Linked DNA regions of Homo sapiens: all the other regions are linked to region 1. The links are contacts of gene promoters, found by promoter capture Hi-C in blood cells and fetal thymus (Javierre and others, 2016). All regions are on one chromosome and are shown on one strand. Each heading gives the region's core, a stretch centred on a gene start or on the middle of the fragment in contact. The rest is flanking DNA. Distances are from core to core; before and after follow the strand shown.

The links. Contacts are between HindIII fragments. The CHiCAGO score rates a contact against its expected background, and 5 or more counts as called.
Region 2: a contact is called between a fragment that was not itself captured here and the fragment with the promoter of TLR5 in region 1, in 6 of 17 cell types (naive CD4 T cells, M1 macrophages, activated CD4 T cells and 3 more). The highest score is 8.2, in naive CD4 T cells.
Region 3: a fragment that was not itself captured here is called in contact with the fragment with the promoter of TLR5 in region 1 in 4 of 17 cell types (M1 macrophages, M2 macrophages, M0 macrophages and 1 more); the score reaches 11.0 in M1 macrophages.
Region 4: a contact is called between a fragment that was not itself captured here and the fragment with the promoter of TLR5 in region 1, in 2 of 17 cell types (M1 macrophages and M0 macrophages). The highest score is 8.2, in M1 macrophages.
Region 5: a fragment that was not itself captured here is called in contact with the fragment with the promoter of TLR5 in region 1 in 1 of 17 cell types (non-activated CD4 T cells); the score reaches 5.0 in non-activated CD4 T cells.
Region 6: a fragment that was not itself captured here is called in contact with the fragment with the promoter of TLR5 in region 1 in 1 of 17 cell types (M1 macrophages); the score reaches 5.0 in M1 macrophages.

What each region holds. Positions count from the first base shown.
Region 1 is chr1:223,141,431-223,146,074 of GRCh38, forward strand. TLR5 (toll like receptor 5) reads right to left here and starts at 1,818. Exons shown (of 6, transcript NM_003268.6): 1 at 1,766-1,818; 2 at 218-333. It overlaps LOC124904522 (a long non-coding RNA gene), which reads left to right and starts at 1,925. Exons shown (of 2, transcript XR_007066895.1): 1 at 1,925-2,168. RefSeq lists a silencer at 1,607-1,976. The HindIII fragment of the contact is 3,848 bases long and covers 1-3,467 here.
Region 2 is chr1:223,628,790-223,633,433 of GRCh38, forward strand. The region is part of intron 2 of CAPN8 (calpain 8); the gene reads right to left. Among named protein-coding and RNA genes, the nearest start is that of CAPN8, 35 kb to the right of the region's middle. RefSeq lists an enhancer at 1-663. The HindIII fragment of the contact is 747 bases long and covers 2,424-3,170 here.
Region 3 is chr1:223,609,641-223,614,284 of GRCh38, forward strand. It overlaps CAPN8 (calpain 8), which reads right to left. Exons shown (of 21, transcript NM_001143962.2): 11 at 2,606-2,617. Among named protein-coding and RNA genes, the nearest start is that of CAPN8, 54 kb to the right of the region's middle. The HindIII fragment of the contact is 1,188 bases long and covers 2,209-3,396 here.
Region 4 is chr1:223,543,951-223,548,594 of GRCh38, forward strand. It overlaps CAPN8 (calpain 8), which reads right to left. Exons shown (of 21, transcript NM_001143962.2): 17 at 1,281-1,349; 18 at 822-900; 19 at 117-233. Among named protein-coding and RNA genes, the nearest start is that of CAPN8, 120 kb to the right of the region's middle. The HindIII fragment of the contact is 5,683 bases long and covers 1-4,644 here.
Region 5 is chr1:223,511,305-223,515,948 of GRCh38, forward strand. No RefSeq gene overlaps it. Among named protein-coding and RNA genes, the nearest start is that of CCDC185, 120 kb to the left of the region's middle. The HindIII fragment of the contact is 6,761 bases long and covers 1-4,644 here.
Region 6 is chr1:223,479,272-223,483,915 of GRCh38, forward strand. No RefSeq gene overlaps it. Among named protein-coding and RNA genes, the nearest start is that of CCDC185, 88 kb to the left of the region's middle. The HindIII fragment of the contact is 2,588 bases long and covers 800-3,387 here.

The DNA of each region.
Region 1 (4,644 bases), core at 568-3,067:
ATAATTAGGGTCATACGCACAGGCATGGTCATGCTGATTGTTGAAATTTAGATTATTTTTGGCCCAGCACAGTGGCTCACACCTGTAATGCCAGCACTGTGGGAGGCCAAGACAGGCGGATCACCTGAGGTCAGGAGTTTGAGATCAGCCCGACCAACATGGTGAAACCCCATTTCTACTAAAAATACAAAAATTAGACAGGCGTAGTGGTGGGTACCTGTAATCCCAGCTACTTGGGAGGCTGAGGCAAGAGAATCGCTTGAACCCTGGAGGCAGTGGTTGCAGTCAGCCGAGATTGTGTCACTGCAGTCCAGCCTGGGCGGCAGAGTGAGACTGTCTCAAAAAAAAAATTACATATATATATATATATATATATATATATATATATATATAGAGAGAGAGAGAGAGAGAGAGAGAGAGAGAGAGAAAGAGAGAGAGAGAGATTATTTTTGTACTGCTTAGTAATTAGCTTTAGCACGGTCTCTCCTCTGGGACCTCCCCTGGAATTTCCCCACAATCCAGTAACTGAATAATTAGCATCCAGCCCCACAGAACTTCTCCCAGGGCCCTGCTCCAGGGCTTCCCTTCTGACTGGCTGTGCATGGCACACTGGGAATTGTTTTCTGCCCACAAGAACAAGGGTGAACTGAGTCAAGGAGTCCAAGAGATCTTGGACGCACTTCTCAGAATTCGGAGGGGCTGGGTAAATGCAGGAGAAAATTGATGAAACCACATTGGCCCTGCAAGAGCCTGACTGCTCCTGCACGGTAGCTACCCCTAGCATTAGCGGGGAGTCACCAATGCCTCTTCCAGGCACTGAGCAAGAGGGCGGCATTACAGATGCACTTGCCGTCCAAACAGATCATCTCATTGACTAGGTGACTGCTCAGCAACAGTATCTGAAGGACACTAGGGTTACTCTGCTTGTTTGCAGTTCACGGTGCTGGACGGATGTGTTCCCAACACTAGGTAACAACACCGCTCTCCCTCCTCCGGGAGAAAGCCGCAGCCGTCGATTCCCACCCAACAGGGCCTCAGCGCCTTCCCAGGGCAGCACCCTCACTCCTGCAACCACCAATCACCCAAGCCACAGCATGGTCCCAGACCCACCCTCGCCCCTTAGGAAATGGCTTTCCAATTGTGTTTTCACAGGAGCATGGCCACTGGGCAATGATCTTCACAGGCAGGCTTTTTTTTCCCCCTCTCAACATAAAGGCCAGCAATATTTACCACGGAGTCTTGGCCAGTGTGCACTGCCTGGTGCTGTGGGGTGGGGTGTTTAGGGCCTTTTGTTGAGCAGCTCAGTGACTTTCTGGGATTTCCATGGCCCTGCTGGAGATGGCCCTCTGTCTCCCTTTTCCAAGGAAGAAAGTGACTGGGGACAAGCCACCTGCCTCTTCCACAGGGTGGGGGCGAGAGTGACAGCGAGACAGCACAAGAAGGACCCGCTCTGTTTCAAAGCGAGGATGTGAGTGACTTCGTCTGTGCCGAGGTCTCTTCGTCTCCAACCTGCCGGGCACAGGGCACCCACATGACACGCTCACCCCGTCCCTGGGCCGAGGGACCCCACGTCTCGCGGGTGCCGCGGGGCAGAGAGCGCCGCCTAGTGAGGCGGCGCGAGTTGGACATAGACTGGAAAATAGACCCGGACAGCCCGGGAGGAGGGCGGAGAGGAGTCCGACCTCCGCAGGCAGCCGCGTCCCCGCCCCGCGCTGCCTACGACTTAGGGCCCCCGGCCCATCCCCTGCCGCTGCAGGGCGCTCACCTCTGGGACGCCTCCCCGCGCCGCCTGCGCCACGGTTGGCTCCTCCCGGACGCAAAAGCGGCGCCCTCGCTCGGGCTCCTGAAAACCTCGCGGCCCCGCCCACGGAAGGGCCCGCCCACCTGCCAGGCCACGCCCCCGTCTCGGCCACGCCGCAGCTCAGGGTTTTCTCTGAGGGCTGTGAGAGGCTAGGCCCGGGGAGAGGAGGCAGAGGTTATGCTCCGGTCTCTGCAGACTTCCACAGTGTCTATCGAGATCACACATGCCAGCATTGCCCCCTCCCATCCTCTCCTCATCGTACGGAGGAGGAAACCCAGGCCGAAGACCTGAAGTGTCCAAAAGCACAGCCAGGCCAAAGAGAAGCACCATCCCATGTTCTCCCACTCCCACTCCGGTGCTTCTTCAGGTAGGCTAAACTTCAGGCTAAAATGTGAAGATCACAGTGACACATTCCTGTCAGCAGAATCTGCTGCATATGTTTGGGAGCTGGGGTGTTTGGAAGCTCCGATTTTGTGTGGAGGACCCAAGAGAGAAGACAGACCCTTCCTGTCCTATAAGAACAGTGCTCCTCCTGCCCTAACTTCTCTTTTCCTTTTTCTAACTCCCTCTGCCTATGGGGTTTGCTGAAACTTTCAGGAAAAGGGACGTGTCAAAAGAAAGAAATGGACACCCCAGAGGCCGTGCAACCACAGGGTTAAAAGGAGGTAGCCTTATGAGAAAGCGGTGGAGTGGCTTTCTGGGGTGAAACCCAGTTCAAGGACAGAAATAGCACTGTCTTGAGTTAAGACTGGTGGTGGGGGAAGCCTGGGGGTGGGGCGCAGACTGCAGGCGGAGGAGCTCCCTGCCACCTGCCACTTGGGGTGTAATCACAGAGCAGCTGACACTCCCCACTCACTGCCTGGAGGAGCTTGGCGGTGGGATCGGGCAAGGCGGGAAAGATAGGTGTAAAACAAAGCCTGGCACTTAATTACAGTGCAAAGATCTCATTATAGAGTCTTCTCAGCTCCCCTCCTCGGCTGGCAGCTTGAAGCCTGAGTGACAAATTGCCTAGGTAGGTCTCCAAGGGCTGTATGTAGAGGGATGAAACCACCTCCCTGCCCACCCGAACCCCACTGTGGGGGCTGTGGAGAGGGAGGGGATGTTCACACTCTGGCATATGCAGGGGGCAGTGGGGAAGTCTGTAAGGGCACCTAGAAAGCAGTAAGAGCTGGGAGCCACAGTGGCCCTAGCCTGACATAAATAACACCTTGCTGGGGCAAGCCCAGTGTTCCCTCTTTTGGTAGTGGAACCGAGGGCAAGGTTGGGGACAGCTTGACGTGTGGCACTGTTTACTCTGCATCATAGGTGGATGCTGCAAGACCAGCAGGGGCCTGGCTTATCATGCAACTTTGTGAATATGTGGGAGAGAGGAGCCTTCCAGACGGTGTTATGGCCTCCCAGGAACTCCCAAAGCCCCCTCCCCAGGGTGGCATCTGGTTTTGGACACTGGTTTCTGTCACTGAGCTCCAGGGACTCATGTCACACCTGGAAGAACTTTTAGATTCTGTCTGCCTGGCCATGTCTTCCAACAGCCGAGATCATTGAGGAAGATGACAACTTCTACCTGAACAGCCAGGACAGCTTAGGGTCTTCTCACATGTGGACCTTGAAATGCACTTCTGTTATTTTTCTCCAGTATATTCAGGGGAAGGGGGCTGGTGATCAAAGCTTTTGCTGAGCAGGAACAGAAGGGTTGTCACTTGCTTTTTTCTCCACTGAAACCTAGAGTAGCAAACACATCCTCGGGGTGCTATGTGATGCTCACAGGCAGAGCCCTGCCAGAGGTTCCCGTCATTCCCATATATTAAACCTTCAATGTCTTCCCTATGAACTACAAACAAAGTTTATATTCTAGGTCAAAACCCCATCGTCTAGCCCCTGACAACTTCTCTAGGCTTGTCTGCTTCCAGCCCCAACCTCCCAGTCCCCAGCCTCAGCAGCTGCCTTCCACTTGCTTAAGGTCTTCACGCATGCTATTTCTTCTACCTGGAATACTCTTTCTCCATGACTTTGCGTAGCTCACTCCTACCCACATTTTAGTGTTCCCTGTAATGTAACTTCTTCAAAGAGAACTTCCCTAACTCTTCTAATTAAATTAGGTCCCTCCCATTATTCTTCCTCTTTATAACCTATTCTTTTCCTTCACAACTCTCATTTCAATTTATGATTTTACATGGACATGTTTATTGGTTCAAGGTCAGCCTGTCCTTCATACTTAATAGATTTAATAGACTGTAAGCCTCACGAGGGTAGGGGCCATGTCTGATTTGTTCACTTCAAATCCAGTATCTGACAAGTGTCTCCCTATAAATATTTATTGATGAATGAATGAGTGAATGAATGATATCAGCAATCTTTATCTTAAAAGATAAAATTAGAACTCAATAAACTTGTAAACATAAGCAGTAGTGACTATTTCCATTAAAAAAGGTAGCAACCAAAACAAGATTCAAGGAAATACAAATACCAAGGTTTATTAGGTACTTCTTAAAACTAACCATCCATTCAACAAATGTGTATTAAGCTTCCGTAGCCCTTGTGCTTCTTGCCAGAAATACAAATCTAAATACGATCTGGCTCTCAGGAGCTTGCAGCCTGGGGGAGTAGGGTTGGACATGTAAATAAATGGTTATAGTGTAATTTGATAAATGCTGCAATAATATAGGTATCTAACTCTGCCTGGGAGTGCCTATATCTGGGACTTGGTGAAAAAGAAAAAGATGACTTTGTCACCTGGACGGGACAGAGGGAGGGCATTCTGGGCAGGAGACGAATGAAGGAATGTGGCTCATTTGGGGAACTGCCAGTGGTTTGGTAAATGGAGCGCAGGTTGTGTGAAGGAT
Region 2 (4,644 bases), core at 1,547-4,046, 490 kb after region 1:
GTCACAGGGGACACAGATTGGTCAGGCCCAGCCTGCAGGGGCCCTGCTTTCTCTGACCCTGTCCCATTCAACCCAGAGTCCACGTTGCCACATTCCCTTCTGAGTCAGGTAGAGTTTCCTCCTCCGGTGCTGGAAATGCACCCGCAGCCATCAGCTTCTTCTGCCTCCTTGGGATTTGTTTACTCGGGAGTGGATCCTCTGCTCCTCCCTGTGGCTGCCCCCTCCCCCACATGCTGATCATTTCCCCACTCCTACACATTCAGCCAGTGGAGTGGAAAAGAAAAGAAGAGGAGAGGAGAGAAAAGAAAAGAAAATTAGTCCCTTTGGTCCCTTATTAGCAGCTCTGATTAAGTTGGTTGAGGGAAACATTGAAGCTGTTAATCCAATCTATGATGTGTACGTGTAAGAGTGTGTGTGTGTGTGTGTGTGTGTGTGTGTGTGTTTATGTTCCTTGCCCCTCCTGACCTTGGATAATGAAGAGCTGGCTCTGCGTGGTCTGTTTACAGTATTGCCTTTTCTTGTTTCAGAGTTCACCAGGAGAGCCTTGATGCCTTATTGCTTAAAGTTCCCTTGAGATACTGCTTAGCATTAAATCATCATAATTTGAGGCAGAAGAAATAAAAGTCAAGAGAGGTTACAAATCCTGGGTTTTGGTGTTCGTCACATTGGAGATTCAAGGAAATGCAGAAGAAAACAGAAAACCCCTTTCTGTGCAAGTTGGGACCCACCACACTGATGCCACTGAGTGGCACTTCCCTGGGAGGCATCGTTGTCCCTTGCAGTGTCAACTTCAAAAGAAGTAGCACGGGCCCCAGGCACCACTGCCTACCTTAGCATCCTATGGCGAATCTATCATCCTAGAAGTGACGTAACTTTGCTCACCTCTACTTATTTGCTTATTCCACACCAGCTGCTGAGGTCTCAGTGTCCTCAAGCGTGCTTTACATCATGTGAAGGCTATTGCATCTTTCTGGCCTGGTACTGCTTCTTTCCACCTTCATTGTAGATCTCTAGCTCTAGGAGTCTAAGATTTGGTGAACAAGTCCCTGTTTCTCCTATTCATTCCATTCAAACAGCTCCAAAGTCCTACCTGTGCATCTTAGCCTTTATCTTTTCCATATCAAAGATCTGAATCTTTTCAATGTGTGTTCAGATGGAAGGCCCTTCAACCTTTTAGAGACCATCTGTGGACCTTGTCTCACTCTAAGTTTTCTTTTAACACTGTGGCCAGAGCTATATACATATTCTAGGTGTGAACACATTATGGTTTTCTCAGAAAACCTGTTGCCTGAGCAAGCAGTAAGCCAGGAACCCACATCTGAGGAGCCAACATCTCCATCATCACTCAGAATTGCTCCATCACCAGGTCATCCTAGAAAGCCCTGGCCTCTGTCTGCCTGGATCTTTCCCAACAAAGTCATTCATGATCTGACCCCAAATTAATTAATTCCTCTCTCTCTCTCTCCCTCTCTTTTTGTCTGTCTGTCTCTCTCTCTCTCCCGCTCACTCGCTCTCTCTCTCTGTCTCACACACACACATACTCATTTACTTTCTTTTTCTTTTAAGAGACAGGGTCTTGCTCTGTTGCCCAGGCTGGAGTACAGTAGCGCCATCATGGCTCACTGCAGCCCCAACCTCCTAGTCTCAAGCAATTCTCCCACCTCAGCCTCCTGAGTCACTAGAACTACAGGTGCATGCCATCATGCCTGGTTAATTTTTTTTTTTTCATAGAGACAGGATCCTACTATGTTGCCCAGGCTGGTTTTGAATTCCTGGACTCAAGTGATCCTCCCATCTTAGCCTCCCAAAGTGCTGGGATTACAGGTGTAAGCCACCATGCCTGGCCATATTACTTTTTGAAGAGCTTTTCTGATCCAGGAGGCAACCTGCTTCCTGCCTCACTCTCTCACCAGGCTCTGTTTCACAGACAAACACTATCTTCCTAATGGCAACAGGGCTCCTAGGTGAGACTAGACCTGGTAGTCGAGGGAAACAGAGTTGATGTGGATGGGCTGGCATGAGTTATGTTACTTCTCACCAAAGAAGCCTCAAGCAGGGCAGTCTCTCATTAAAAGGCAACTTCCAAAGGTTGAGCAAAATAACACAGTGTCCTCCTCCCACCCAGCTCCTCTCAGCCCATTTTTCTTCTATGAACACCTGTGATCATGTCACACCCCTGCTCGCAACTGTCCTCCATTGCTCACCAATGAAATACAACCTAACAGGGCATCAACACCCTTCACAATATGACTCCAACCTACTTCTCCAGTCTTTTTCCTATTACACTCTCCGCTATGAATCTAATCTCCCAATCGAACTTGGATATGTACAAAACATACCCTGGTCGTTTTCATTGATGTGATTTTTCTTGTTTGTTCCCTCTGCTTGCAAACTTCTTGATGAATCTTACCCCTTCTCCATGAAGCTTTCTCTGATACCGCCTACCCTCCAGCCAGAAGTCACCGCTTTTTTGGTATGTGTCCTAAAGACCTTATTTACGCTTCTCTTGCAGAGTTATCACAAGCTGCCTCAGATCATGATTTGCACCCAGACTGGCCTCAAAACTCCATTCATGCATCAACTCCTTGGCAGAGCTTTCCTTACCCCTATCCCTGGCCTGTCTTACCAGCACCAAGCCCTTCCTCCTCACACCTCCCCAGCAAGTTCTAAGGCCACTTGATTACATCTGTTTTTCTCTCTCCCTCATCCCTCTCTGACCTCTTCTTGCAAAGCAGCAATGTGGATTCACTCATCTCGGCATCCCCAGCAGGTGGCTGACACACAGAAGCAGCTCAACGGATGTTTGATGAATAAAAACAAATAAGCAGATGACTACATGAATCAATGAATCATATTTTGTTCTTCTGCAAATCTCCAACAGCATCTTACATATATTTGCACCTCAGCCTCCCAAGTCTGTGGGGAAGTGGCATTCAACAAGAATCTGCATCAAACCTGACAGATTTCACTTTCACCAGCATCAGGCAGAGGGAGATAAACAAGGTAGGGCAAGCACAGAAGCCCAGTCCTCTGGGGAGTGAAGGGGGAGACTGCTCTGCAACACCTCTAAAGCTAGTGGCTTCTCAAAGAGATCAGAGCAGCCACATAGCCCTCATTACTGGGCATGGTCCTGGTTGCCTTCCGATGTGAAGGTTCTGGCTCCCGGTCTAAGCTTCTTCCGACAGCCCACCCAGAGCACTCCCTAGATATTACAATTCAAGTCACGGCAACAAAATGTCCCTCCGTTGCTGACATCAAATGAGGTGGCCCAGCTGGAGGAGAGTTTAATTTTCTCTTCATCTACCTCACTCCTGACATTTCACAGGGTCTACCCAGCTCTTGCAAGCAAGCACAGAGGCTCGAAGGGATGCTGTGGGTTTGGAGGCTTTTGGATCCTTGCCAGTCACTGCATGAAGTGTGAATGGATTGTCATGACGAGAATGCGTTTTCAAAGGAATATATCCAAATGTGCTTCCCTTCAGAGTCCTCTGGAAGATGGACATTTACTCTGCTGTTCACATTTAGAAACTTGTTTGGGGAACTGCCAGCAAAAAAACAGCTTTGATCTTGGAGCATAGGTTTTGTTTTGTTTTGTTTTGTTTTGAGACAAGGTCTCGCTCTGTTGCCCAGATGAGTGCAGTAGTGCAACCATGGCTCACTGCAGCCTTGACCTCCTGGGCTCAAGCAGTCCTCCCACCTCAGCCTCCCAAATTGCTGGGACTACAGTCATGTGCCACCATGCCGAGCTATTTTTTTTAAATACAGAGCTGGGGTCTCACTATGTTGCCCATGCTGATCCTGAACTCCTGGCCTCAAGCAATCCTCCCACCTTGGCCTCTCTAAGTGCTGGGATTATAAGCATGAGCTACCACACCTGACTAATTTTCAATTTTTTAATTTTCAAAAGCAGTCAGGAGGCTTTGACATACTAGTTAGGTGGTGAATAAGGCAGACAAAAACACTGGGAAATACCTTGATAGACAAGTCCCTCCTGGCCACCTTCGAGCTAGGGCTGCTCAGGAGTTAGTGCTCACTCATGCGCTTTAAGCAGAGGTGCACTTCATGGGAATTTAGGGAAGGTTTCCATGTCCTGATGAAGTGGGGCAGACTTGGCTGGCAGAGACTTTTTTGCCCATTGCCCTTCCTCCTTCTTCCCATCTGGAAAGTCCACACTGTGCTTGGAGGTGCAGAGCCAGCTTGCAATCCCAAGGCTGCAGGTGCAAGATGAAGGTCAGCATAGGAGAGTGCAGAGCAGAGCACAGTGTGAGTCTAGCTCTCCAAGGGCATTATTAAAGTTACACTAGCCCTGGGCTGTCTGCCTCTAGTTTTCTTATTATAAAAGAAGAACTTGCCCCCTATTTATGCTTCTTGTAGCCCAAGGTTTTTCTAACTGATATTAGAAGCATGACTACAGAGTGATTTGGTATGCCCCATAAATTGGCTCTGAAAAAAGAATTCCACAAAAGGAATTCCAAAATAAAGTTGGGAATAGCCTTTCAAATACACACATTGCACTGGGTTGAATCTATTCTAGGGAGACTGGAAGACCTGGATGGTAATGCCTGTGTCTGGTCCCAAAACGGAGACTATAACAAATGCTCTCTTAAAAAAAAAAAAAAGAAATGTATTTGAGAGGCCAAGGCA
Region 3 (4,644 bases), core at 1,553-4,052, 470 kb after region 1:
CTCTAGTGTGCGCTCAGCTTCTCTCTGGATATTTTTCCTCTCTAATCCAATAGGCTCTTTCATTCTGCAGCTGTCTCTGGGAGTGTGGCATTGATCTTCCCAGTACAGGCCCAAGGCTGGAGAAAAGAGCTTAAATCCTAGTCCTCAAGCAAAAGCTGCCACAAAAACTTGTTCACCTTTGACTATCTGTGAAAACTGCTCTGCAAAGAGACTAGGATGGTCAGTCTGGGAACCCAGGGAGGCAGCTCTAAAAGAGACAGGCAGAGGGGGCGGCCACAGCTAGGCCTAGTCTGGGGTCCCCCCAGCCTCCCCAGGGCCTCGACTCTCCTCAACAGGCGACGATGCTCTCCAAGACCCACTTATTTGTTGCGGGGAGGTGGGAGGCTGTTGGTGCATGACACAGGTTAATTAGTGACTGCAGAGTGCTTCCAAAACACAGGTGCCAAAGTTATTATTGCTGTAATTAAGCCTCCCCATAACACTGTGTCTTTACCATCAATCTTCATCAAGATGCCTGTGACAGAGGCCAGGTGCTGATACACTGCAAGGGCTGTTAACTTCTGTGTGACCCAGAGCTGAAATGTCCACCCCAGAGTGGACAGTGTTCATTCTTGGTCATCAGACCCTCTTTGGATTACAGATCTGCTAAGCAAAGAAGGAAGCAGGCCACCTGCCCCCACTACCCTAGTCAGGACTCCACATAGAGCCCTCAGGCAGTCCCCACTAACCCGGCCACTAGGGTGCCCACAGTCCTTGAGATTCTCCCTAAAAATGCTTACATTCTGGGCAGGAGAATGCTGGTGGTGTGGCCAGAGAGGATGTGACCAAGGCCTACATGTCATGAGTTAAAGGTCATTCTTGCCATACCTGATGGTAGCAAAGGGAGGAGACAGGGCACTGGTAGGAGAAAGCACTCAGGAGAGTTGAAGTAAGGAAGCTACTCTAATTTGTCTTGGGTTGGGAAGGGGGCAAACTGAGTTCCAGCAAGAATCCAGGGGTGGAGCAGGTTAGAGAAGTCCTATTTGGGGGCCAGAGTGGGAACTGGAGGACACTGAGGCAAGATCTAGGTAAGACTCTGTCCTACTAGGGACCCCAAGTAAGCAGGTGCCACAAGGTCCCTGGCCCCCACATCTGCCCTTGACATAGCTCAGCTCAAAGTTACAGGATGGAGGTTGGGCAGGTTTAACTAAGGGTGGTTCTCAGTGTGGGATCAGGATCAGCAGGAGCACCCCAGGGTAACTTGTTAGAATGCAAATTCTCAGGCCCCACCCTAGACTGAAAGAATCAAAAACTCCAGGAGCAGGGCCCAAAAATCTGTGCTTCAACACGCCCTCTAGGGGATTCAGAAGCACATTCTAAGTTTGACAACTGTTGTCCTGAAGGCCCCCCGGCACTCGTAGAGCACAGGATCCAGGGTGACACATTGAGGGCACTGTGAGGTGCTGCTGGAGAAAGCTCCATTGTGTGTGCACGTCACCTCTCTCTCATATAAATGGGGCATTTCTGATGGGAACCACCATCACCCAGACTTAAATCAGCTTTGGTTTTAATTATTTTCCAGTAGTAATGAGGTAGGAGGTAGGACTCAACTCCCAGCAGGACGCTGGACCAAATGGAGCACTAGCTGAAACAGGGAAGAGGTGAAAGCACCTCTCCATGAGACATACCCACCAGTGTGCCCTATCAGTTTACTGTTGCCTTGGCAACATCCAGAAGTTACTGCCCCTTTCCATGGCAACAACCTGACAACCCAGATGTTAACATTCTTTTTCTAGAAATTTCTGCATAATCTGCCCCTTAATTTGCATATAATTAAAAGTTGGTATAAATATGAGTGTGGACCTGCCTGTCAGCTGCTACTGTGGGCTCACTGACTATGAGGTAGCCCTGCTCTGCAAGGACCTCTGTTGCTGCTCTACCCTGCCACTTCAATAAAAGTTGCTAACACCACTGTCTGGTCCTTGAATTTTTTCCTGGGTGAAGCCAAGAACCCTCCCAGGCTAAGCCCCAATTTGAGGGCTCACCTGCCCTGCATCAGTAAGAGGTATTTGCTCTAAACCATTCACTTCCTTGTCTGTTCCCTCTGTAATCAATAACATGCACTTTGTGAGCCAAGGGCAGGTGGACCAGTAATCTGCAGCCTTGGATCAAGGCATACACTAGAGCTGATGAATTGAGCCTTGCTGGCACATGCTTCATGGCTAGCCAAGCTTGAAAACCCAGAAGAACTGGGGTAAAGCTGAGCAGGGTGGATGCACCTATACATAATTAGTGCAACTGACTCCAGCTAGAGGAAGCCCAGATAGAACACTGGTTCTCAACCTTGGCTGCCCATTGGAATCACCTTGTTCAGACCACCAGGGGCATGGGGAAAAAGGTCACCACTGTTCCTTCCATGAGGGCCTGACAGATGGGACTTGCAATGGTCCTCACCCACTCTCAGAGCTACCAGCCTACTCATGTGGTTTGATTCATGACTGGATCATGTGAGAGCTGTGGAACAACCAGCTTCTACCACAGGAAACAGACGCTGCTGGCTGCCCATCCTGAAGGCAGCCAAGCTATTTCTCACCAAAGGAAGGAATCTCTGTCAGCACTCACATACCTCCTTGGGAACCTGTGGGGCAGAAGAAAAGAGCAGGTCACCTGAGAGCTCCAAGGTCCTCCTTCTGCTCCTTTTCCTCTCTCCCTATGTCTTGCAAACAGACTGTGCAGTCCTGGGGCAACTGAGGAGACATTTGTGCTAAAGTGAGAAGCCAGTCAGCATTTCTGAAACTGGAACACTACTGATGAATTTCAAGGCCATCTATAAATAGGATCCTAGAAATCTGGTGGGGGACCACCAGATTTCTAGGTTCTACTTTCTTATTTTCTAGTTGTAGAATCTACCAAGATCTCAAATTATTCAGGAGTAATAGCCTTGGGGTTTCAATGAGAGCTAATCTCTTCTTCAGACCTACAGACCTGGTGTCCAAGATCAAGAGTTTGACCAGAGTGGGGGAATCTCACTCAACCTGAGCCATAGTTTATTCTGCCCTTGGCTATGGTGAAATGGTTCAAGAACAGGCACATGACCCAAGCTGAGCCCATCAGAGACTTACTTCTCTGGGATTTCTGAATTGGAACTAACAGAAGGGACTCCTTTCTTAATGCTAGTGATATTAGGGAATGAAGAAATCTAGACTAGCACAATGTCATCAGCACTAGAGAGGAGATGTGGAAAGAAAGAATCCTGGTAGTATCCAAGTCCCTTGTCCCAAGCCTTCATCTCCTTCCCTTAATTTGGTTTCATGAGCTGGTACACTATTTTCACTAGCCTAGCTCGAGTTGGGCTTTATTATATGCAACTGGAAGTGTTGACTCCCATAAGAGAGTAGCTCTCAGATCCAGAGTAGAAGCTTTCCCATGCCTGGGGTTCCTATGCCAGGCTAGAGAAGAGGATTCAGACCCCATAATTTGTCCCTTTCCATTCTTTGTCCCTGACACATAGGCCCTTTTGACCAGAAGACCATCCATTATTTGTGGTTTAGGTCTATGGTCAACTGCCTATAACTCTGAAAAACAACAATATTACAGAAAATGTGTATCAGCTGGCATGCTCACTTCTGGAGCCCCCATGGGTCATTGGCAGCAGAAGTAGAAGAGTCCAGGGTCACAGTCATTCCTCTAATTTTGAGTGTAAAACCAAAATCACCCATGCAGAGGCCTCACAAGTATCTTCCTGTCAGCTCCTGGCCTAATAGCCTTTACACACCCTTGGCAGGGGCTTGCCCAACCACATGGGCCGTCTTTCCACAAACAACTTGACCACCTCTGCTGCCATCAGTATGCTCCAGATCCACCCTACCAAGAATCACCCAGCAGAAACTGAGCCAGGCAGGTGGGGCCTCTTGGTGGCACAAATCCAGAGCAGCGAGGTAAGGGAGCAGGCCTTAGCCACTGCCCATGGGTGGATGGAAAGAAACAGTCATCTTTCAAATGCAGGATCCTGACTGCAAATGACAGGCTGGCCTGGCATCACTGCAGGAAGATAGAGGGGAGAGAGAGGAGGCCAGACAAGGAGGGCTCTTTAGTCTTTGGAGGCACCTGGCTGCTTCTCAGTCAGCAGCAGGTTTTCATCCTCAATCCAAACTCCAGTTAAAGCAAGAGAAGGGAGATACAGGAATGAGAATATGGCACCCACTCCCTGCAACCCCAGCTACTCCCTATAACCCCAGCTACTTCTGATACCCTCTTAACCTGACTTTTAAACTGTTTTCACTTATGGATGTCATGCTCTAAATTATATGCCTGTGGCCAGATATAGAAGGACCACAGATCACACACACTGGAATATTTTATAAGCAGCTATAATTTGATGACTAAAAAACTGATATGCTTTATATATTATTTATGAGCGCAAATGTCATGCCACACAAAGCTATTTCAGTCCCTTTGAAAGAATGCTTTGCTGGTCTGGTTATATAAGGTAGGCCTGGCTGAGTGCAGTGGCTCACGCCTTTAATGCCCGCACTTTGGGAGGCCAAAGCGGGTGGATCACCTGAGGTCAGGAATTTGAGACCAGCCTGGCCAAAATGGGTGAAACCCCATCTCTACTAAAAACACAAAAATTAGCCAGATGTGGTGGCACGCACCTGTAATCCC
Region 4 (4,644 bases), core at 1,079-3,578, 400 kb after region 1:
TTTTCTGGGTCCCTGGCCTCCTAAAGGCAATGTCTGGTTCTGCCCCTTGGCCCTGCCCCTGCCCCACCTTGCACCTTGGGATTAATAGGATGGGGCTGGAGGACAGAGTGACTCACTGAAGAGGGTCTCCAGGCGGATCATACAAGCCACGAAGCTGTCAAAGTTGATGCCAAGCTTGCTGCACGCATACCGCAGGGCAATGGTCTGCTGCACCTGGCTGTTGAGGGTGAAACCTGAGGGCAGAGGGAGCCTGGGTCACAGGTAGAGTGGAGGACTCAGCACTGTCTCCCATAAACACTCAAGGAGCTGACATCCCAGGGGCCCCTCTGTGGTTCTGTATCAATCTGCAAACCAGGCCTGACTCTGCCTTCTCCAGGGGATCCCAGAAGGTGTCCTGCCATCCATCCCTCTCCTTGTAGCTACTCCTCACCAAGATCAGCCTAATTCCAGGTCCAGCGCTAGTACCAGCACCAACTCAGCCATGGGTCACATCAGCAAGCAAAAGCAGAGAAGGTGAGGGGGCTGCCTGTCTGGCCAGTTCCTGTCTGTCTCCTTCATAGCCCCTTCCTCTGTAATTGCTGTCACCTTCCCAGTAACAGGCAGAGATCTTGGAAAAATTCTAAAATATTATGCTATATGGAATCGAGCAATATTCTCCCCTTCCTGGACAGGGAAGGTACTCAACAAAGCTCTGTTGTTGCCTTGATATCCCATATAAGAAAGCTACAAATGATGATCATTAGCAATCATCATCATGAGAATAAATATTTACAATGTGCACACCTGGATCCCAAGACCCTGTCTACAGGATGTGTCCTCACCTGCCTTCCTGAGGGCTGTCCTCATCTCGTGGGCATCGATGGTGCCCGAGTGGTTATAATCAGTTTCCCAATAGATCTCCTAAAGCAGGAAAGAAATCCCAAGTAGAAAACAACCATTCACGGCCCCTGCCAGAACCATCTCCCTCCACCACACTGCTTTCTCAAAAGGCCAGGGACACTTTCAAAAGGAGACCCTATTGACTCCTCCCAAGAAGGTTTCAGAGCAAGCATAAGAGCTTGGCCAGTGCTGGCCCCTTTGCTGTCTGAACAGCAGGGCTTTCAGGGCAGTGGTTGGCATGAGAGTCTCTCATTGCCTTCTTGTTCCTTCATGACCAATGTGCCCAGGACTCAATAGTTTTGACCATGATTAAGGATGTGGTCAGAATACAATGGACCAGGAATGAGTGTAAGGGAGGATTAGAACAGAGGAGAGGATGCCCAGAAGGAAAAGAGAGTTACCAGATACTTCTGAATCTTCAGCCAGAGCGTCTTGAATTCCACCGCCCCCAAAGTGCCCGTTCCATTGCTCTAGGCACATTAAAGACCAACATGATTGAGTCCAAATTCTACATGCCTTATAGATTTCTTTCTCTTGTGAGCTTGCATGAGTGCCTTAAGGCCTTAGTGAACCTTCCATGTCTGTGGCAAGCAGAGCAGTGGGGGTGACGGTGTGTAACAGGTTCAAATAAAGATTAAAAAGTCAAACGTGCACCAAGGCTCTCCTCTGAGGCCAGGCACAGAGCTAGGAACAAAGGGCAAGTCATGAGCTGGCCAATCTGCAATATCGTGAATACCCTAATCATCCTGGTTTATTTACAGGGTGGAGCTGTATGATCTGTAAATTCGCTTCTACATTTACATTTCTGTGATTGATCATTCAGCTAATTAGAGTTTGTTGGAATGTCAAAATGTTATGGGAAAAGACATCAGGAGCCAGGAACCATGGGACTGGGAGTCTAAGCCACAGAATCTGCTCATAGGCCACTATACAACCAAACAGGAGGATATTATGAGGGATTTTCTGTGTCCAACTTACATTCACTCCACAACTTTTTTTTTTTTTTTTTTTTTTGAGACGGAGTCTCTCTGTCGCCCAGGCTGGAGTACAGTGGTGTGATCTCAGCTCACTACAACCACTGCCTCCAGGGTTCAAGCAATTCTCCATGTCAGTCTCCCAAGTAGCAGGGATTACAGGCACCCGCCACCATACTCCACTAATTTTTTTTTTTTTTTTTTTTTTTTAGTAGAGATGGTTTCACCATGTTGGCCAGTCTGGTCTTGAACTCCTGACCTCAAATGATCTGCCTGCCTCAGCCTCCCAAAGTGCCACGACTATTTTTTTTTAACGCTGTGCTAGTCAATAGGGATTTAGTTTTGAATGCACTTATGCTCCTAAAGTTAAGTTTTTTAGAGACTCTACAATTTTCTCACCAGTCACAACTAATCAATAAACAGTGCGTATGTTACAGCACCAATGTTAAAATTTTGAAACAGCCCCAGCTACTCAGGAGGCTGAGGCAGGGGGATTGCTTGAGCCCAGGAGTTTGAGGCTGCAGTGAGCTCAGATTATGCCTGTGAATAGCCACTGCACTCCAGCCTGGGCAACATAATAAGACCCCATCTCTGAATAAATAATTAGAATTCTAAAACAGACTATCACTTTAATTAGCCAAACAAAAAGTCCTGTAAGCCTCATACTTTAAGAAAGTCTGTGTTCTTGGATCTATAATCCGCACTGAGTGTTGAATGCATCATAGCCTTCAAATCCTTACTAATAATTCAACCAACACATCTCAGAACAGTAGTATGCAAAGGAAGCTAACACTCGGGGCTAGGTACTCTACATACTTGTATCTCATTTCATCCTAACAATAGCCACACAAGCTAGACATAATTATCCCATTTTCCAGGAGAAACTGAAGTTCAGAGCATTTAGTAACTTCCTCAAATTTATACACCTCAATAAGTGGTAGAGCCAGAATTTGGACCCCTGTCTGTTTCAAAACCTTTGTCCCAGAACACCAGTGGTCTTCAATTCCAGATAAAATTGCTTGCAGAGACCACACCTATGGAATCAGGATCTCCAGGAATCAGGGGTTTTTGTTTGTTTTGTGGTTGTTGTTGTTGTTGTTGTTGTTGTTGTTGTTGTTGTTGTTGTTTGAGACAGAGTCTCACTCTCTCACCCAGGCTGGAGTGTAGCAGTGTGATCTTCACTCACCGCAACCTCTATCTCCCAGGCTCAAGCGATTCTCGTGCTTCAGCCTCCCCAGTAGCTGGGATTACAGACATGTGCCATCACGCCTGGCTAATTTTTGTATTTTTAGTAGAGACAGGATTTCACTGTGTTCCAGACTGGTCTCGAACTCCTGGCCTTAAGTGATCTGCCCACCAGTGCCACCCAAAGTGCTGGGATGACAGGCATCAGCCCCTGCGCCCCGTCAATTTTTAAAATTTTTTTTCTAGCACTTTGTAGGACATGTGAAAGACTGTATTTTTAAACTGTATTTTTAACACCCCATGGGTGATAAAGTACTGATACATGCTATAGTAATTGAAACATCATGTTCAGTAAAAAAAGTCAATTACAAAGGACCACATATTGTATAATTTCATTATATGAAATGTCCACAATAGACAAATTTGTAGAGACAGAAAGTAAATTAGTGGTTGCCTAGGGATGGTCGTGGAGGTTGGGGGAAATGGAGAGCGACTGGTAATAGGAGTACAGGGTTTCTTTTTAGGGTGATGACAATGTTCTAAATTATGTGATGATGGTTGCTTAACTCTGAATACACAAAAGCCATTGCCTGATATACTTTAAATGAGTACGCTGTATGGTGTGTAAATGATATCTCAATAGAGTTGTTATTTTTTTAAGGATTCCATGGGTATTTCTGCTGATTCAGAACCACTGCCCCACACTACCTAAACTGTGGAACAGAAACTCCTGAAGAGTGGCAGAGAGTCACACTCCTCTTTGAACCGTGAGAGACACAAATACCATTGGGAATAAAGAGTGGGTAGATTACAAGGCAACTCTCAAATCTAAACTGAAGTCAACAGATGGGGTTTGATGAGAATGATTCAGAAACCAGGGAACTATTTGCAGTAAAGTGAATCAATACTTAACAGTTCCTTGCAGTCCACAAATTAAATTGTCAAGCATGGAGAAAAGACACGAGGGCTAAAGAGCCCCAGCCTCATGCAGGGAGTGGCCGACTGAAGCTCAGAGGCCAAAAGATAGCACCAGCCCTCCATGGTGGATCAGCCACGCAGAGGTGGGCACACATGCTCTGTCATCCAGGACCACTCTGCATGACAACCATGCAAAGGAAAATCCTTCCTCCCGTCCCGCAGTTAATGAAAGAACCCACAGTAAAGATCATCATGGATGAACAGACAGAGCTCATCATGGATGAGGCCCCAAGGAACTGAGAAAAACCCTCCAAGGCTCCAATTTTTAAAGAAATCACCTTCACCATCAGCACTGTGATAAATGGCAACCTGGACCCACTGTGGGCAAAGCTCTAAGGAAGTGATGTTACACCACTCACCCTCTGTGCCTTCACACCTAGAAGGTTCCTTCCACCTAGAATGCCCTGACCTTCTCCATTCCTCCCAAAAACTACTGCCCATTTGCTATAGACTGAGTGTTTTTGTCCTCCAAAATTTGTATGCTGAAACCCAATCCTCATGTGAGGATATTAGGAGATGGGCCTTTGGGAGGTAATTAGGTCATGAGGGTGGAACCCTCAGAAATGAAATTAGTGCCCTTATAAAAGGAACCCCAGGAAACTCCCTCACCCCATCTACCATGTGAAGT
Region 5 (4,644 bases), core at 866-3,365, 370 kb after region 1:
CGTGGGACCTTCCCAGCAATAGTTTCAGTGGGATAGGCTGAGGCCCTCTCATTTTGCAGGCCAGAGTCCCAGCCCAGAGCATTCAGGTGTCTCACATCACTTTTCTTCTGGCTCACTCAGCAGGGTGAGGCTAGGAACTCTTGGTGCCAAGTCTAGTGTCCCAGTGTCCCCAGTGACTATCAGTCCCCAGTGGCAGCCCCAGCACTCCCTCCTGCTTGGCTGAGAACCCAGATCACAGAAAGGGGATGATTTATCTTTAAGTTTGGATTTAAAATTTTAAATGGTACTGAAGTCAATCGAATGACTGGCCCCAAATCTGTACTCCCCTCTTACAGTATTAGCCATCCATGCTTGGCATGGCTTTAGGGTGAGCAGGGTGCACCTTACCACATCTTGCCTCTTGGCTTGCCTGTGTTACTTACTTAGGCCAATGGGAGTGGTTGGGCTTGCCATCTTGTATGCCTGTCTTTCACCATGGAAAGAACATGCCCTGGGTGTCCACCACCACAAAGAGGATGAGAGATGCATGGACTTGTACCCAACCCACAGTCTACACTCAAGCCCAGCTAAACTGGAGCAGCCGAACCCAGCCAACCTGCAGACAGAGGAGTCAGAAATAAATGCTTTATTGTTTTAGGTTGCTAAGTTTTCAGTAGTTTGTTAAGCAAAATTACTATGGCAATAGCTGGCTGATAAGTGTCTTATAACCCAAAGGATCTATGACTCACTGGGTGCAGTGGCTCACACCTGTAATCTCAGCACTTTGGGAGGCTGAGGCAGGAGGATCGCGTGAACTCAGAAGTTCGCGACCAGCCTGGGCAACATGGTGAGATCCCATCTCTACAAAAAATAAAAAAGCCAAGTGTGATGATGCGCACTGGTATCCCAGGTACTCAGGTGGCTGAGGCAGGAGGATTGCTTGAGCCCAGGAGGTCAAGGCCGTGGTGAGCCATGATTGCACCACTGCTCTCTAGCCTGGGGGAAAGAGAAAGGCCCTGTCTCAAAAACCAACAACAACAAACTATGACTCAATTGACTCCCTCTGAAGCTAAGGAGACTTTTTGTCTCATATGCATTTTCATGGCTTTTCTGGAGACACCCTAAAGCTGGAGGTCTCATGCCATCAGATCCCTTGATGTAAATGAAAGCATATCCATTGGATTTATTCTTCACTCTTTCCCCAGCCTCTTAGGCATCAGCAATTACTCCAGCTCCCTGCAGCTGAGATCTGTTTGCCCCTCCAGGGGACCCCCTTGGACAGGACCTAAGATGAAACCACACTGACCTTCTCTCACACAGAGCCCAAGGTTCCACATCATTTGACCTGGCGGACCCCTGGAGTACAGGCCGATCCCGGTGCAGCAAAAACTTGTGCTTCAAGGAGACTCAGACCCTGGTCAAATGTGTCCCCCAAACTGCAGGGAAACCATATTGAACTTTCCGGATGATCTGTTTCAAATTTTTCCATCTTGACTTGAGGAGAAGAAGGATGTACTTCCCATGCCTTATCATATAGGAAAATAGAACCCACTTGTTTTGTTTAATTTTTAGACACAGAGTCTATCTCTGTCACCCAGGCTGAAGTGCAGTGGCACAATCATGGCTCACTACAGCCTCGAATTCCTGGGCTCATCTCTGCCTCCCTAGTAGCTGGGACTACAGGCACACACCCAGCTTGTCACTTTAATTTATAAAGATGAAACAGTAGAACTTTCTCAGGTTGGCAATACTCCATGGATATTGTCATGCATCGATGCCAGAAGACTAATGCATCCTGACCTTGGGAAGAGGAGAACAGAAGCTCTGCATTTGGAATATTTCTGGATTCTTCTGTTGATCAATTTTAATCTGTATCCTTTTCCTGTAATAAATCATAACTGGGTGTCTAACAGCTTTCCATGAGTTCTGTGGGGACTTCTAGAAAATAATTTCAGGAGTTTTTGGAACCTCCTGAATTTGCGATTGGTGTCAGAGTGAGGGCAGTCAGGCAGGCTGTCCCCTCTAACTTTGCAATTGGGAGTCAAAAAACTTCAGAAACTGCTGCTGATGTTTACAGCTGCTCAGCAGCCCTGAGGCAAAAGAGTGGCTGGGAAAAAAATACACTGGAAGAACTCATGCTGGCCAGAGTTAATACACCTGCCACTATGCTGGAAGAGGAAGAATGGCTCAGCCTCCACTCCGGCTTCCTAATCTAGCTTCAAGGCACTTGTTGGCAGAATTAAACCATACTCAACACTCTGCAAACAAGGGAATCCGGGAACAGGCTTCTGAACAGGAGAGAGGCGGAGGAGGTGAACCAATCCCCCACGGGGCTCACCAGGACTCTCTCTGAAAATCCACTTCCTAATTTTCAACTCCAAAGCCTTTGAGGTCCTCACTAAGGATGAGGGGTTTGAGATGTATGTGATGGGATTGTGGAGAGCTCCATGGTAAATTCTGCAAAAAATCTCCCTCTTCCTTTGAATGATGTATTATCCAGGAGTTTCAGCCACAAGCACCATTTTATCATCTCATTACACCAATCACAGCTAAGGCTACAATAAACACTTGGAATAATAAGGTGCAGACACAATTACATGCTTTACCCTTCTCTGGTCTTTGAGAATAATAAACATGGTCACAGAGCCTGGTATTCAGATGAGGCTTTCCTGAGGACCCTTATTTCCAAAATCTGAAATTACCAGAAGGGTAAATTAAAGAATGAATACTCATTTGGTAAAAAGGATACCTTGTTTACAAAATAATTTTACTTTAATGGTAGGGATTTCCAGCTATTTACCACTTGTCAAACCAGAAGAAAGAAACTCCAAAGTGTTAGGAGCTATTGTTAAAGATCAATTAAGACTGTAGAAACCACATCTCAGAAACATTTATGAAATTAATTGAGAATTATAATTTGTATCACACACTGTTTCTATGAATGCATCTCTTTTCTAAAATAAGACCCAGCTGTAAATTATGGGGACAACATGGGTTGGTAAATGCTCTTCAGATGCCTGATGGGTGCATTTCCTGTCTCCCCTGGGTGTTAATCTCCTGCGTGGGAAGACTCTGTTTTCTGTGTGTATCACCTAGGATGCTTTTGGCTGCGAGTACAGAATATTTCAACTGAAATGGCTTAAACAATAAGGACATTTATTATCTCACAGGTCGAGCTGTCTGGAAACAGGAAGTTCTAGGCTTGGTTAATTCTGTGTGATGAAGTTGTCAGGCACCTGCTGCCTCCCCTCTTTGCACTCTGCCATCCTCAGTGTCATCTGGTCCCCTCAAGGTAGCTGGATGGCCGCTGACCACTGGTTCTCACACAAGCCCATCAGAAGGAAGGGAGGACAGCCTCTCTTTTACATTTCTTTTGTTGCCAGAGAGAAAATCCTCCCTAGTAGTTCTCTAGAAGGCTTCCCTTGCTGGTTCCTTAGTCAACGTTGGGTTTGACATGCACTCCACAGCTTTGAGAAAGCCTGGAAAGTGAAATGGCATTTGCAGCTGCTTCTATCTTGAGAGTGACGTTCTCAGCCACAAAGGAAGAAGGAGATTTAGAAACACTGTTGGTTCAGAAACCAAACATATCTGCCACAACACCCAGACCCTGCCCTCTTCTAAAGCCATAGGCCAAGGCTCTGGCACAGCAGGTGCTCAGCAAACACAAGCTAAGAAATAAAACATCCAAGAGCCAGTGCAAACCAGTGCTCACTCAATCAATCTCAATTTCCTAATGGGTATTTCCAATTTTGATATAGAAGCCTCCTACACAGGCACCAAGAGCCAGTCCCCCTTTGCCCACCTCTTGTCCAGGAGGTGGCTGGTCAGGCAAACCCATACCACAAGTAAGGGAGCCTTTTCCAGGTTTTGTTGTTATCTTGTTCTCAAGTCATTCAAGAGACTGACTTTCCTGGCAGTGGAAACCTGAAGACCCTTGCAGGAGAAGAGCCACTGCCAGGAGCAAAGCTGTCCCCACACAGATGAGAGCCTTTGCTAGTCTTGACCTCGGATCTGGAAATAGAAGGGTCTTGTTCATGTTCCCAAGGAAATTGAGGAGAACACTCTTGAGTTAAAACAGGTGCTTCACACAGGGCCCTTTAGAGGAGCTAAAACCAAATGGCTTTCAAGAGAAGAGAACAGTAGTTCAGAGACAAACTTTATCAGACGTTTGGATAGCCCCATCCCCAGCAGGGACCTGTGGGCCAGGACACTCCCTTTTCCTCAAGATGTAGCTGGGGACTCACTGAAATGTCACAGCCTCTTCAACTTGCAGTTGTGACAAAAACTCACTGATCTCAGTGGCCCCGTGGCCTCTTACCAGCATTCTGTCTGTACACTCAGCTTCTTCCAGGAAACCAGAGAAAAGGTAAAGGCTTCACTAGAGATCACATCAAGCACGGAAATCAGAAAGGGGCTTTGCCACAGATAATTTTGAGGTGAATGCCGGGTGCCTCCCAGGAAGCCACATGCCACTGGAGCCGGAAGAAATACAAAAGATACTCATTTAATACCTGAGGAAACTGAAGCCCCAGAGGGAGACACACAGGTATTTTGGCTCATTGGAGAAGCTAATGAGCCCACTCTCCACTCCTAATTAGTTGTATCATATTGGACAAGTTGATAACCACTTTGAATATTGGTTTCTTCATCTGTAAAATGGAGTTA
Region 6 (4,644 bases), core at 844-3,343, 340 kb after region 1:
GGGGGTAAGGAAGTGAGGAGGTGAGAGGGTGGGGAGGTGAGAGGGTGAGGGAGTGAGGAGGTGAGGGAGTGAGGGAGAGCACAAGCTGAGAAAACCAACTGCCTAGGTCCTGCCCAGGGCGACCTCTCTGGCAGAGTCGCCAGGCAAGGAGGACAAAATAAGGCAATGCAACACTTAAATGAATAGTCAAACTTGCCCCAAATCACAATGCAGACCTTCCGGAGCCAGGCGGGATGCAGAGAGGACTCCTTTCTCCTCAACAAGGGAGGGCTGGGGAAACTCAAGTCAAGCAGATCAAAGAGTAATTTGCCTGCTTTCCCAAACCCAGACATCAGCTGCTGCCGTTCCTATGTGAGGAAGGGTTTACCCCACAGCCGTGGGAAGAAGGGAGCAGCAACACTTGTCCCATGTTTTGGGGGTGAGAGGGTAATGACAGGGAGACAGAGGGCCTGGGGCTGAACCCTCCACACTCCCAGCCTCAGAGAGGGGCCGGAGGGCGGTGCCCACACCCTGCACCCTCACCCGCTCACTCTTTACCCTTGTCGTGCCCCCTACTTCCCTCCAGCTTTAACATAAGAATCAGACCAAGCAGGCAGCCCTTCTCCTCTTCGAGAGTGAAGTGACATGGGAGAGGAGGCAGGAGCCAAGAGATGCCTTGCTCACCTGGCTGTGGGCCAGGGAAGGTCTCCTTAGCGTGAGGCAGCCCTGCTGGAACTCTGTTCTGGTGAGTGGCTCTCAGCTCACCTGCTTGTCGCAGCTCTTTCCTCTTGTCCGTTTCTGAGCCTGCATGGTCCCTAAAAGCTTAGTCTTTTCACCACGTCTCTCTGGATAGCAGCAGCAGCCTCCAGACAGCCTGCAGACTGCGTGTGTGTGGTGTGTTGTGGGGTGTGGGGTGTGTGTGGTGTGTGTAGTGTGTCGGGTGTATGTGTGTGTCTGGTATGTGCGTTGCATGCATGTGGTGTATAGGAATGTGTGGTCTGGGCTCTGTGTGGTGCATGTGTGTGAGGGTAATTTTGTGGTGTGGGGTATGTGTGCACTATGTGTATAAAATTGTGTGTTGGTGGAGGGTGTGGGTTGGGGCTGTGGGATGATCATCACTGGAAGGTGAACCGCAGCTCCATGATAACCTTTTGTGCATACACGTCATTTGTAATTAGCCAGGTCTGGAGAGTTCGAAACTGGGAGAAGAGAAAGAAGAGAAGAGAGAAAAGGAAAATTAATGAAACAAGTAACCTGCCTTATATGGATATTTGATTTGCTTGTTTGCACATTGTTTAGTCCTTACAAGCTCTGAAAATAAAACACAAGCACAGTATCAGGCTCAATTAGGTGCTTAAGAAATACCTTTTGATGATGACAAATGGCAGGGATGTTAATGACACTGCTTCCCTCCAGCTCCTGCTGCACAGAGCGCCCTTGGCTCTTCAGACTTACAGCTCTTTGCCTGAGCTGCTGTGAGCAAGCCTCTGCTGCCCACAGGAGATGGCCCTGTGGGCAGGGCCTCCCTGTGTCTTTTCACCTTTTGAGACAACCCCATCCACCTCTTTGGGCAGCAGCTCATAGCAGGTGCTCCCTGAACATGTCTGCCTTTGACTTGAAGGGGTCGGGACGCCGCTTGAGGATGCTAAAGGGAGGCAGCTCATTGTAATGCCTTCACCTCCACCACTTCCAGGAACTCCTCCTCTCCTTGTGGATCTCAGGGCTCATACGGTTTGCCCAGAGCCCAACAGCTACAAGTGCACTCAAACAGAACATTCCTCCGTGCGTTTGCTCTTGCAAAATGTGTGTTGGGGGCGGGGGCGGTGGCTCATGCCTGTAATCCCAGCACTTTGGGAGGCTGAGGAGGGTGGATCACCTGATATTAGGAGTTTGAGACCAGCCCGGCCAACATGGTGAAACCCCGTCTCTACTAAAAATACAAAAATCAGTCCAGCGTGGTAGCAGGTGCCTATAATCCCAGCTACCTGGAGGCTGAGGCATGAGAATCGCTTGAAACCGGGAGGCAGAGGTTGCAGTGAGCTGAGATCGTGCCACTGCACTCCAGCCTGGGCCACAGGGTGAGACTCCGTCTCAAAAAAAAAAAAAAAATGTGTGTTGGATCCCATGGTTCCCCTGCTGCCCAACACACCGAGAACCAAACGCACACTTGCACGCTCGCCGTGGGGCCTCAGTCACCTCCTGACTCCCAAACACACAGCTCTCACTGCTGCCTCCCGTGCTCCCCCAGGCCAGCGCTGGCTCTCTCAGTGCTAGTATCTTTTTATAAGGATACCAGTCGTGCTGCATTAGAGCCCACCCTACTCCAGCATGACCTCATCCTAACTTAACTAATTACATCTGCAGTGACCCAATTTCCAAATAAGTTCACATTCTGAATTACTGGGGGAATAGAATTTCAACATATGAATTTTGAGGGGACACAGTTCAACCCATTACTGCAGCTATCCACAGAAGAAAGTCCAAATTCCTTATGTGGCATTCAAGGCCCTCTGTAATCCAATGAGATCCACGTTTCCAGCTGTTTCTCTTCTTCTTCTCCCCTAGGTGCACACATGTGATACTGTTTTGTATCAAGGCAGGATTCTGAGATTAAGTGAAGAAAGGGGAACAGTTAGGAGAGTAGCATCTGCTGAATGTTTACTAAATGCCACCGTCAATGACAAGTGTGTTTTATCTACGTCACTCTACTTTTTTTTTTTTTTTTTTGAAACAGAATCTCACTCTATTGCCCATGCCGGAGAGCAGTGGTGCGATCACAGCTCACTGCAGCCTCAAACTCCTGGGCTCAATCAATCCTCCCAATGCAGCCACTGTGGAAAATGGTATAACTTTCTCAAAAATTAAAAATAGAATTATCAAATGATCCAGCACTTCCACTTCTGAGTATATACCCAAAAGAATTCTAAGCAGAGATTCAAACAGATATCTGCACACTCATATTTATAGCAGCATTATTCACAATAGCCAAGAGGTGCAAACAACCAAAGTGTCCATCAAGAGCTGAATGGATAAACAAAATGTGGTCTATCCATACAATGGAATATTACTCAGGCTTGAAAAGGAAGAAGATTCTGATACATGCTACAACATGAATGAACCTTGAGGACATTATGCTAAATGAAATAAGCCAGTTTCAAAAGGATAAAAACTATATGATTCTACTTACATGAGGTACATAGAACAGTGAAATTCACAGAGACAGAAAGTTGAATGGTGGTTTCCAGGGGCAAAAAAAAAAACAAGGGAAGATTCACACTCCCTTGCAGGTTTCTCTCCACAGACCTCACCAGGTGTCAAAAAAAGAGTTCTCCAGGGGATTCCAATGTCTGCCAAGCTGTAAAGCCATCGGCCTTTTGGGTAGTTATCTTCATTTCTTCTTTGGGGAGAAGCTTGATTTTCTGTAAGCTGCAGAAGATAGCTCAAACCAGCAGCTCAGCCAGTTAAGGGGACGGAGGCTGCTGGTCTGCATCCTTCCAATGGTCTTTCGTCTCCCTTTTTCTCCTAACTTAAAGCTTTCATGATGGAGAAGTCTTCCCTGTTGTCTGCAATTTTCCTTCTCTCAAAACAACCTTCTGAATCCTCTTTTGGGGTGGGGTTTCAGATGTTGTGAAACCATCACATGCTTATGAACTAGCAGACATACAGCACCGGAAGTTGAGAGGGTGGACTGCTATTAGACTGCCTGGGCTGAGTCCTGAGGGCACCTCTTGCTTGCTTGAATGACTTCGGGCAAGTTACTTCACCTCTCCAAGATGTCATCGGGGCTCATCAAAGTACCCGCCCCATGAGGTCTCCTTGTGAGAACAACATGAGAAAAGCCTGTGCAAAATGCTTGCCTGCCACGTAGAAAAAAAGCTTCCATAAATGTTGGTTCATATTGTGAGCTTTCAAATCAACCAAGTGTGAATAATTTCTACTTCATTCCATTGGCTATGGCAGGGGAATACAAAGATTTGTCAGAGCCATTTCCAGCCTACAGGAGTTTACAGCTATCTGACTTTACAGCTACGAGTGCCGTGAGAGAGCTACAAACCCAATGCTGCAGGTGTTCAAAGTCAGAGATTTAATAACCACGGAGCCGGGAATTAGGGAAAGCCTAATGGTGAATGGATTTAAGCTGACCCCGGTGGAATATGAAGTACAAAGCTGACTTCCCTGCAACTCTGTCTGGTGACATCCTTTTCTTTTTCCAAAGAGATACTCAAGACTCAGAGAGATTCAAAACCACCCAAGGGTCACAGGTGGTTTATCAAAACCCCCACCCCACCCCCCAAATACACACCAAAAAGCTAGGTTTAATAATCCATGACTCAGAACCTGGAAGGCTCTCTGCAGGGCTGAGGGGCCTCGCCGGCTGTCTATGACTGCTGCCCGCCTAGCAGGCACTGACCCAGGCCCCAGGCTCCAGGACAGTGTGCTGTCAGCCAGAGGCAGCTGTCAGCCAGACTGCTCCCCTCCTCTCAGCCTGGCAGGGGTACTCAGGGTAGTTCTCTCTGTTGGGGACCCTAAGCATGAAACAGTATTGGAGGAGGCTGTGCTGAGAAACCCACTGAGGGAGGAAGGCTGACGGTCTGTGTTCTTCTAGTGGTCTCTCTTCACCCTTTGTTCTCCTAGCATAAAGCTTTCACGATGGAGATGCCTTCC